Regions from separate parts of the Homo sapiens genome. Here region 2 is linked to region 1. Evidence: promoter capture Hi-C in 16 types of primary human blood cells and fetal thymus (Javierre and others, 2016). All regions are on one chromosome and are shown on one strand. Each heading gives the region's core, a stretch centred on a gene start or on the middle of the fragment in contact. The rest is flanking DNA. Distances are from core to core; before and after follow the strand shown. Region 1 overlaps DEPDC1 (DEP domain containing 1). Region 2 holds the start of LRRC40 (leucine rich repeat containing 40).

Region 1 (3,672 bases), core at 334-2,833:
TGTAAAGATATTATTTAAATTCATTAAGGCTATGCTTCATGTCAGACAAAATATATTCATGAACATGTAAATTTACAAAAAGACAATTTGAAGGAATTATTTGTGTTGTCCAAATATTCTTTCCTTTACAAAATGAATTACAATAAAATCTTATTAAACTAAGCTTCCCTAATGCTTTTAAAATGATATTAAAATTTTGCTTTATGTATGATTTTTCAGGTATACAAATGTTAAACAAAATACTAGCAATTGACTGCTTCCAGTGGAAAGATAATGAGGAAGAATGAAATACACCCTTTAAATTTTTGAACTGTGGCAGAATTTGTTGTTAAACCTAGCTCCTTCATGAAATACAGATTTTATACTTTTTATGTTTAAAAATTGTATTTAAATTAAAATATACTTTACCTTTTTCTCTTGCCTTCTACTTCTTAGGGCCAAGAAGCAATGATATGAATAATCCAACTTATGTTGGATTTGAACGAGATGTATTCAGAACAATCGCAGATTATTTTCTAGATCTCCCTGAACCTCTACTTACTTTTGAATATTACGAATTATTTGTAAACATTTTGGGTATGTATAGATTTTACTGATTTTAGTTCATTTTGTTAAAGTTTTCAACTTTCTTATAATTTAGAAGATCTAAAACCATAGGTAAATATAAAGGTGGCAGCCTACAAATTATTTTAAAATTCAGTGAAATAAGGTTCCGAGGTTACTCATACTTCCGCCCAGCCAACTACCAATTCGGGACTTCCCTCAACCCCCTACCAGACTCAATAATTCACTACAATGATTCACAGAACTCAGAAAAGCACTTTAACTATGACTATTAGTTTATTATAAAAGCTAGACCTCAAGAATAGCCAAATGGAAGAGTTACACAGAGCACGGTATGAGGGTGGGGGTGGCACAGAGTTTCTCTACCCTTTCTGGTCATGCCGTGATCCCAGCACATCCATGTGTTCACTAACCTAGAAAACTCCCTCAGCCTGCATGTTTTAGAGTTTTAATTGAAGTTTAATTACCAAGGCATGACTGACCAAATCATTGGTCACTGTTGTCAATTGAACTCAATCTCTAGCCCCTTTCTCCTCCCACAAGGTTGTAGTTGGTGATGAAAATTCAAACCATGGCCGGCCCTCAGTTACCTTAGCATGAACTCAGATACGCTGAAATAGGCTTGTTATGAGTAACTAAAGACTTCTATCATTCAGGAAATTTCAAGGATTTTAGGAGCTCCATACCAGGTACCAAGGACAAAGATCAAATATATGTATTTTATTATACCACAATTATCTTATATTTATGAGGTTTCTAGTACTTGCAGACTGAGAACAGATTTTTTAAATGTATTCTGGCTCAATCCATTTAATTAGGCTGTTGAAATAATTTTTTAAAGTTATATTACAAATGGGAAAACCACTCATCTGTCTTGCACGTTTGTAACCGAATGTTGCATGTGTCCTATTTAAGTGGCTTCTGAATTAAGCAACTACTGTGTATACTATACTAACAATATATACTATAGTAATGCTTTATTTTTTAACTTTACTATTGTTTTTGTTTTATTTTTGTCCACTGTCATACAGTTGCATCTTAATTTTTGTTTCATTTCCTGGTAGTTGTTTGTGGCTACATCACAGTTTCAGATAGATCCAGTGGGATACATAAAATTCAAGATGATCCACAGTCTTCAAAATTCCTTCACTTAAACAATTTGAATTCCTTCAAATCAACTGAGTGCCTTCTTCTCAGTCTGCTTCATAGAGAAAAAAACAAAGAAGAATCAGATTCTACTGAGAGACTACAGATAAGCAATCCAGGATTTCAAGAAAGATGTGCTAAGAAAATGCAGCTAGTTAATTTAAGAAACAGAAGAGTGAGTGCTAATGACATAATGGGAGGAAGTTGTCATAATTTAATAGGGTTAAGTAATATGCATGATCTATCCTCTAACAGCAAACCAAGGTGCTGTTCTTTGGAAGGAATTGTAGATGTGCCAGGGAATTCAAGTAAAGAGGCATCCAGTGTCTTTCATCAATCTTTTCCGAACATAGAAGGACAAAATAATAAACTGTTTTTAGAGTCTAAGCCCAAACAGGAATTCCTGTTGAATCTTCATTCAGAGGAAAATATTCAAAAGCCATTCAGTGCTGGTTTTAAGAGAACCTCTACTTTGACTGTTCAAGACCAAGAGGAGTTGTGTAATGGGAAATGCAAGTCAAAACAGCTTTGTAGGTCTCAGAGTTTGCTTTTAAGAAGTAGTACAAGAAGGAATAGTTATATCAATACACCAGTGGCTGAAATTATCATGAAACCAAATGTTGGACAAGGCAGCACAAGTGTGCAAACAGCTATGGAAAGTGAACTCGGAGAGTCTAGTGCCACAATCAATAAAAGACTCTGCAAAAGTACAATAGAACTTTCAGAAAATTCTTTACTTCCAGCTTCTTCTATGTTGACTGGCACACAAAGTAAGGCTGTTGCTTTCAATGCATGCAATATTAACTTTGAGTGTTTACTAACTCTGTGTTTTGCTTACCTGGCTTTTCTTCCTTGAAGTTGCTTAATTTTTTTTCCTCCAAGAGGAATTATTTAAAAAGACTTTTGTCTGTGACATAACCAAGATTTATTCTGTTTACCTAAGGAACTTATTTTCTTTTTTGCAATTTCATTTATTCTGAGTCACTTTATTTGTAATAAGTGAAGAATTTTAATACTTAGAAATAAGTTGTAAAGAAAATAATGAGAATCTTACCATGCTTTAGAGGAACGTAATTTCTAGAAATAGTTAAAAGATGAAATACTAAGATATTATTTTACCTTCTTTATATAGCTGTATATACTGGTAGTATGAAAGCAACTAGTGTCATTGATGATTTTTGGGGGGGTATTTTTGTATTCTAGGCTTGCTGCAACCTCATTTAGAGAGGGTTGCCATCGATGCTCTACAGTTATGTTGTTTGTTACTTCCCCCACCAAATCGTAGAAAGCTTCAACTTTTAATGCGTATGATTTCCCGAATGAGTCAAAATGTTGATATGCCCAAACTTCATGATGCAATGGGTACGAGGTCACTGGTAAGTTGATTTCTTATAGAAAGAATAAGTCTGATTCATAAACCAAAATAACAAAACCAAACTACGTAAAAGTACTACTCAAGTGATGTCTTAGTCTTAAAGTGCTAGATTCTTAGGTTGGAAAGGCTCTTTAACCTTTCCTAGCAGCAGAATTTTGGTGTATTAATCTTTTGTGCACACTCTGTTATACTTTCACATGCTGATGTTAATCCTGGCTAAGGACTTTGCCTGCTCATTCATCCTGAATCACTTCATAGTGATTGACCAGTCAGACCACGTTATGTTGCCTTGTGCCAATTCTGTTTGGTGGATAAGGAAGAAGAAATGTAGGTACTGTTGAAAGCCTAAGGAGACTATAACTGTGGACGCAGAGAACTAATGGAACTTAATACAGTAAGTCAGTGTTTCAGAGAATATAGTAATGGAAAAGTAGGTCATCGTGGACAAGAAGTTGGGAAGCACTATTGCCAAACAGCCTTAGGCTCCTTGTGAAAATGAGGATAAGGGCATTTATATGCAGACAATTGATTGGAAATGAACTCTTGAAATAGTATCTTTAATCTCTTTCTTTTTTTTTAAGTCACCA
Region 2 (3,487 bases), core at 775-3,274, 1.7 Mb before region 1:
AAAAGGTGGTTCTTTAATAAAGAAATCTTCTTAAAAACAACTGAAGTGTCTCTTACAATGATTACAGGATTAAAAAAAAAAGCAAGTTGGGAATTATGAAAAGCCACTAGGGAAGTCATGGTGATTAAAAAGAAAGGTTTTGGAGACAGATCTAGGTTCAAATTCCTGGTCGTGCTATTCAGAGAAACTTGTGAGGTTGGGTAAGTTTCTTCACCCCTTTTAGCCTCAATTTCCTTATCTGCAAAATTAGTCACTGTGTTAAATAAGAAATAGCAAACAGAGGTATTATTAGCACTGAGCCTGGTATGGGCCCAATAAGGCAGCTATTACCATTACTGTGAAGACAAGCTGACCAGGGACCTCATTAATAACGTTGCAAAAGCTGCTACGGTCGTTTTCCTTTAAAACTCAGGCTGGGCACGGCGACTGACACCTGTAATCCCAGCACTTTGGGAGGCCGAACTGGGCGGATCGCTTGAGGCTGGGAGTTCGAGACCAGCCTGACCAACATGGCGAAACTCCGTCTCTACTAAAAAATATAAAAATTAGCCAGGTGTGGTGGTGCGCGGCTATAATCCCAGCTACTGGAGAGGCTGAGGCAGGAGAATCACTTGAACCTGGGAGGCGGAGGTTGCAGTGAGCCGGGATCACGCCACTGCATTCCAGCCTAGGCGACAGACCAGACTTTGTCTCAAAAAAAAAAAAAAAAAAAAGACAAAAATCCACTCTTTGCTTTTTTAGTAGGGTAACAACTATTGGTAACTTTCTCTTGTTCGATATTAGTGTAAAGGACTCCACAGAAATAAGAACAAAAAGGGTAGAGTTAAAAACCGAATTTTACAGGTAGCAATAACCTGGACTCAGGTAAAAGTGCGTGATGAAGAATTGATCAAAGGGCCTTCATCCTAGCTTTCAACTATTCTACCAATCCTCAGTAGACTTGATGGGGGTTAGAATGGTATTCCCTGGCATATGCTTTTAAAACAAAATCATTTCAGGCAAAAGAAAAGTCTAGCACCCAGGATAGTACACATACTAGGCAGGATTAATCTTAATAATTACTTGTTGAATCAAGAAGTTGTACATTTCAGATGAAAATTTTAATTTCCTAGGAAACACCGACTTACATTGAACAAAATTTTCATTTGCTATTATTCTGGACTCACCGAGAGCTCAAGATTCTAGTTTTTATCTTCACTTATTTCAAAAACCTTATGCGGTAGGAATTATCCCCAAAGTAATGAAAAAAAGGAATGAGCTTTAAAAGCGGTTGAGTAAACTGCCTAAAGTTAACAGTTTCTAAAGTAAAGAAGCAGCTGAGATTTGAACTTGCTTTTTAGGGCTCAAAAATCCAAGCTGTCTGAGCTTCACTAAAGCATGTACCACTACTTGTCTCCCTAAACTGTCTGATACACAGAACATTTATTAAATTTTAAGGATTTTTGTTTTTGTCTTCTATGTTGCCAGTCCTTCCATTTCACATTACCTCCTTTGCTGGGTAAGCTATATACCCTCAATACAACGAGAATGGTGTCAGAGTACAAGCCTTAAGAACAGAAAATTTCTTTTACTCCGTACGCCAGAGGTCTGGCGCCACCACCACAAGCGACAAACACAGGCTGGGGTCCAGAAACGCTGCCGACCGCGCCCAGATCTCAAGTTTTAGTCAAGGCCCACGTTCAGACTAGGAGAGGGGAGAAGAGAGGGTTCTCTTTCCCCACACCCTCGCCACGGTGGAAGCACAGAGGAGAAGGTTGGAGTCGCAGTAACAGTGCAAACAATAAACCCGAAAGCCCCTCTTAAGCCCGTTAAACGCACTTACTTGATTGAAGTAATTCCAGGACGCTAGGCCGGCACCGGCAACGGAAAAGGCTTCTCTGTCCTCCAGCCCAGGCGCTGGTGCTGACGACATCTGGACTGCGCCGCAGAGAGTGAAGGCCCAGCGCGAGGCCGCGAGCCCAGCGCCCAGAGCGCGCGCTCACGAAAGGAGCGGGGCATCCCAACGGCGCCACCTTTAAGCGTCACGGGTGGGGCTGCAGCTTCTGGACCTAGGACTTTGAACATGTCGCGCCTGAAGCGGATAGCGGGGCAGGATCTCCGCGCTGGTTTCAAAGCAGGTGGAAGAGACTGCGGTACCTCGGTACCCCAAGGGCTGTTGAAGGCAGCGAGGAAGAGCGGCCAGTTAAACCTGTCGGGTAGAAACCTCAGTGAAGGTAAGACCCAGAGGTACGACCCTATTGTGTCTCCTGTCAGAAAGCCTTTGGCCCAGGCAACCTCCCTTTTCTCTGGGCTGGCTTTGGCCCCCTTTCTCAGACTGCTAGCCAGAATTTCTGTGCTCTAATCTAATCCCTGTGCTCATTTCGACCGGTTTGGTTAGCCCAGTTCAGTTCCTTCCCAGGTTCCCGCAATCTCTGTTAAAGGGACCCTGCTAAAAATACGGTCTAAATTTAAACGGGGCGCTTTCTGGGATTCCCACATTCTGTGGGATAAGCAACATAATATGTGACGAAACCAGCTATCAAATCACGGGCAAATCTTTTGTTTCTTTGGCCCTTATTTTCCTCCTCTTATTGTAATCTTCAAGGGCAATTACCAAAGCTAAAATTATATGTTTTATCGGCCCCTTTGTGAACCTGCACTGTTCCCTGCCGAGACGCTCTTCTGTATGCAGCTGTGCAGAGTTCTACTTACAAGGAATAATGAGTATATTTTCTAAGTTGAAGATCAGGATAGATGCCACACAGAGTGTTTGAATGTGGGGACATCCTGAGAAACCTGTTAAAGACCAAGAAGCACAAATCTGGGTACCATGAATGAATGGCCAGATGCTCTTCTGATTGTCGTGTGTGTGTGTGTGTGTGTGTGTGTGTAAGAGAGAGAGGGAGGGGAATGGAGAGATGGAGAAATAGAGCATTTTTCCTGTAATGTTTTTCTTCATTTATATTTAGGTTTTAAGACTGATTAAAACCTTCCATTTTCCTTCTAATGATTGCTTTCTTATTGTGACATGTATAAAGTAGATTAGGCAAGCAAATGCTTCTGAATGAATGAAAAGACACAGAATCCTTACTCCACCTAAAAGAGTTTTTGATCAATGGGAACATACTCATTTTCAAACTACAGTTGTGCATATATATATATCTACTTGGTTTCCCCAAAACCTGAAACATTTTTCTCTAAACTTGCATACCTATCATGCTAACATTCTGTTCTCTTACCTGTTTAATTTTTTAACAGCATTTATCACTATCAGAATTTATATCATTTATGTTTTTTGTTTTCTCTGCCCTCCAACCAAAAGGTTAATATCATGAAGTCAGTGAGCTTTGTTTTGTGCTTTGTTGTATTTCTATCACTGAAAATAGTGCTTGGTACATAGTAGAGTCTTATTAAATTTTGCGGAAGCAATAAGTAAGTGAATGAGTATTCTCAAATCATAAGTGGTGTGCTAGAATGTACTTATTGACTAGACTCAGGTGGTTTCGTC

Evidence for each region. Contacts are between HindIII fragments. The CHiCAGO score rates a contact against its expected background, and 5 or more counts as called.
Region 2: the fragment with the promoter of LRRC40 here is called in contact with a fragment that was not itself captured in region 1 in 1 of 17 cell types (monocytes); the score reaches 5.1 in monocytes.

The regions. Positions count from the first base shown.
Region 1 is chr1:68,480,854-68,484,525 of GRCh38, reverse strand. DEPDC1 (DEP domain containing 1) reads left to right here. Exons shown (of 12, transcript NM_001114120.3): 7 at 436-576; 8 at 1,629-2,480; 9 at 2,914-3,086. It overlaps DEPDC1-AS2 (DEPDC1 antisense RNA 2), which reads right to left. Exons shown (of 2, transcript NR_198991.1): 2 at 822-1,765. Among named protein-coding and RNA genes, the nearest start is that of DEPDC1-AS2, 3.6 kb to the right of the region's middle. The HindIII fragment of the contact is 2,836 bases long and covers 166-3,001 here.
Region 2 is chr1:70,204,116-70,207,602 of GRCh38, reverse strand. LRRC40 (leucine rich repeat containing 40) reads left to right here and starts at 2,024. Exons shown (of 15, transcript NM_017768.5): 1 at 2,024-2,213. The coding sequence starts at 2,063. It also overlaps a transcript of SRSF11 not described here. RefSeq lists enhancers at 1,801-2,110, 2,371-2,430. The HindIII fragment of the contact is 8,465 bases long and covers 1-3,487 here.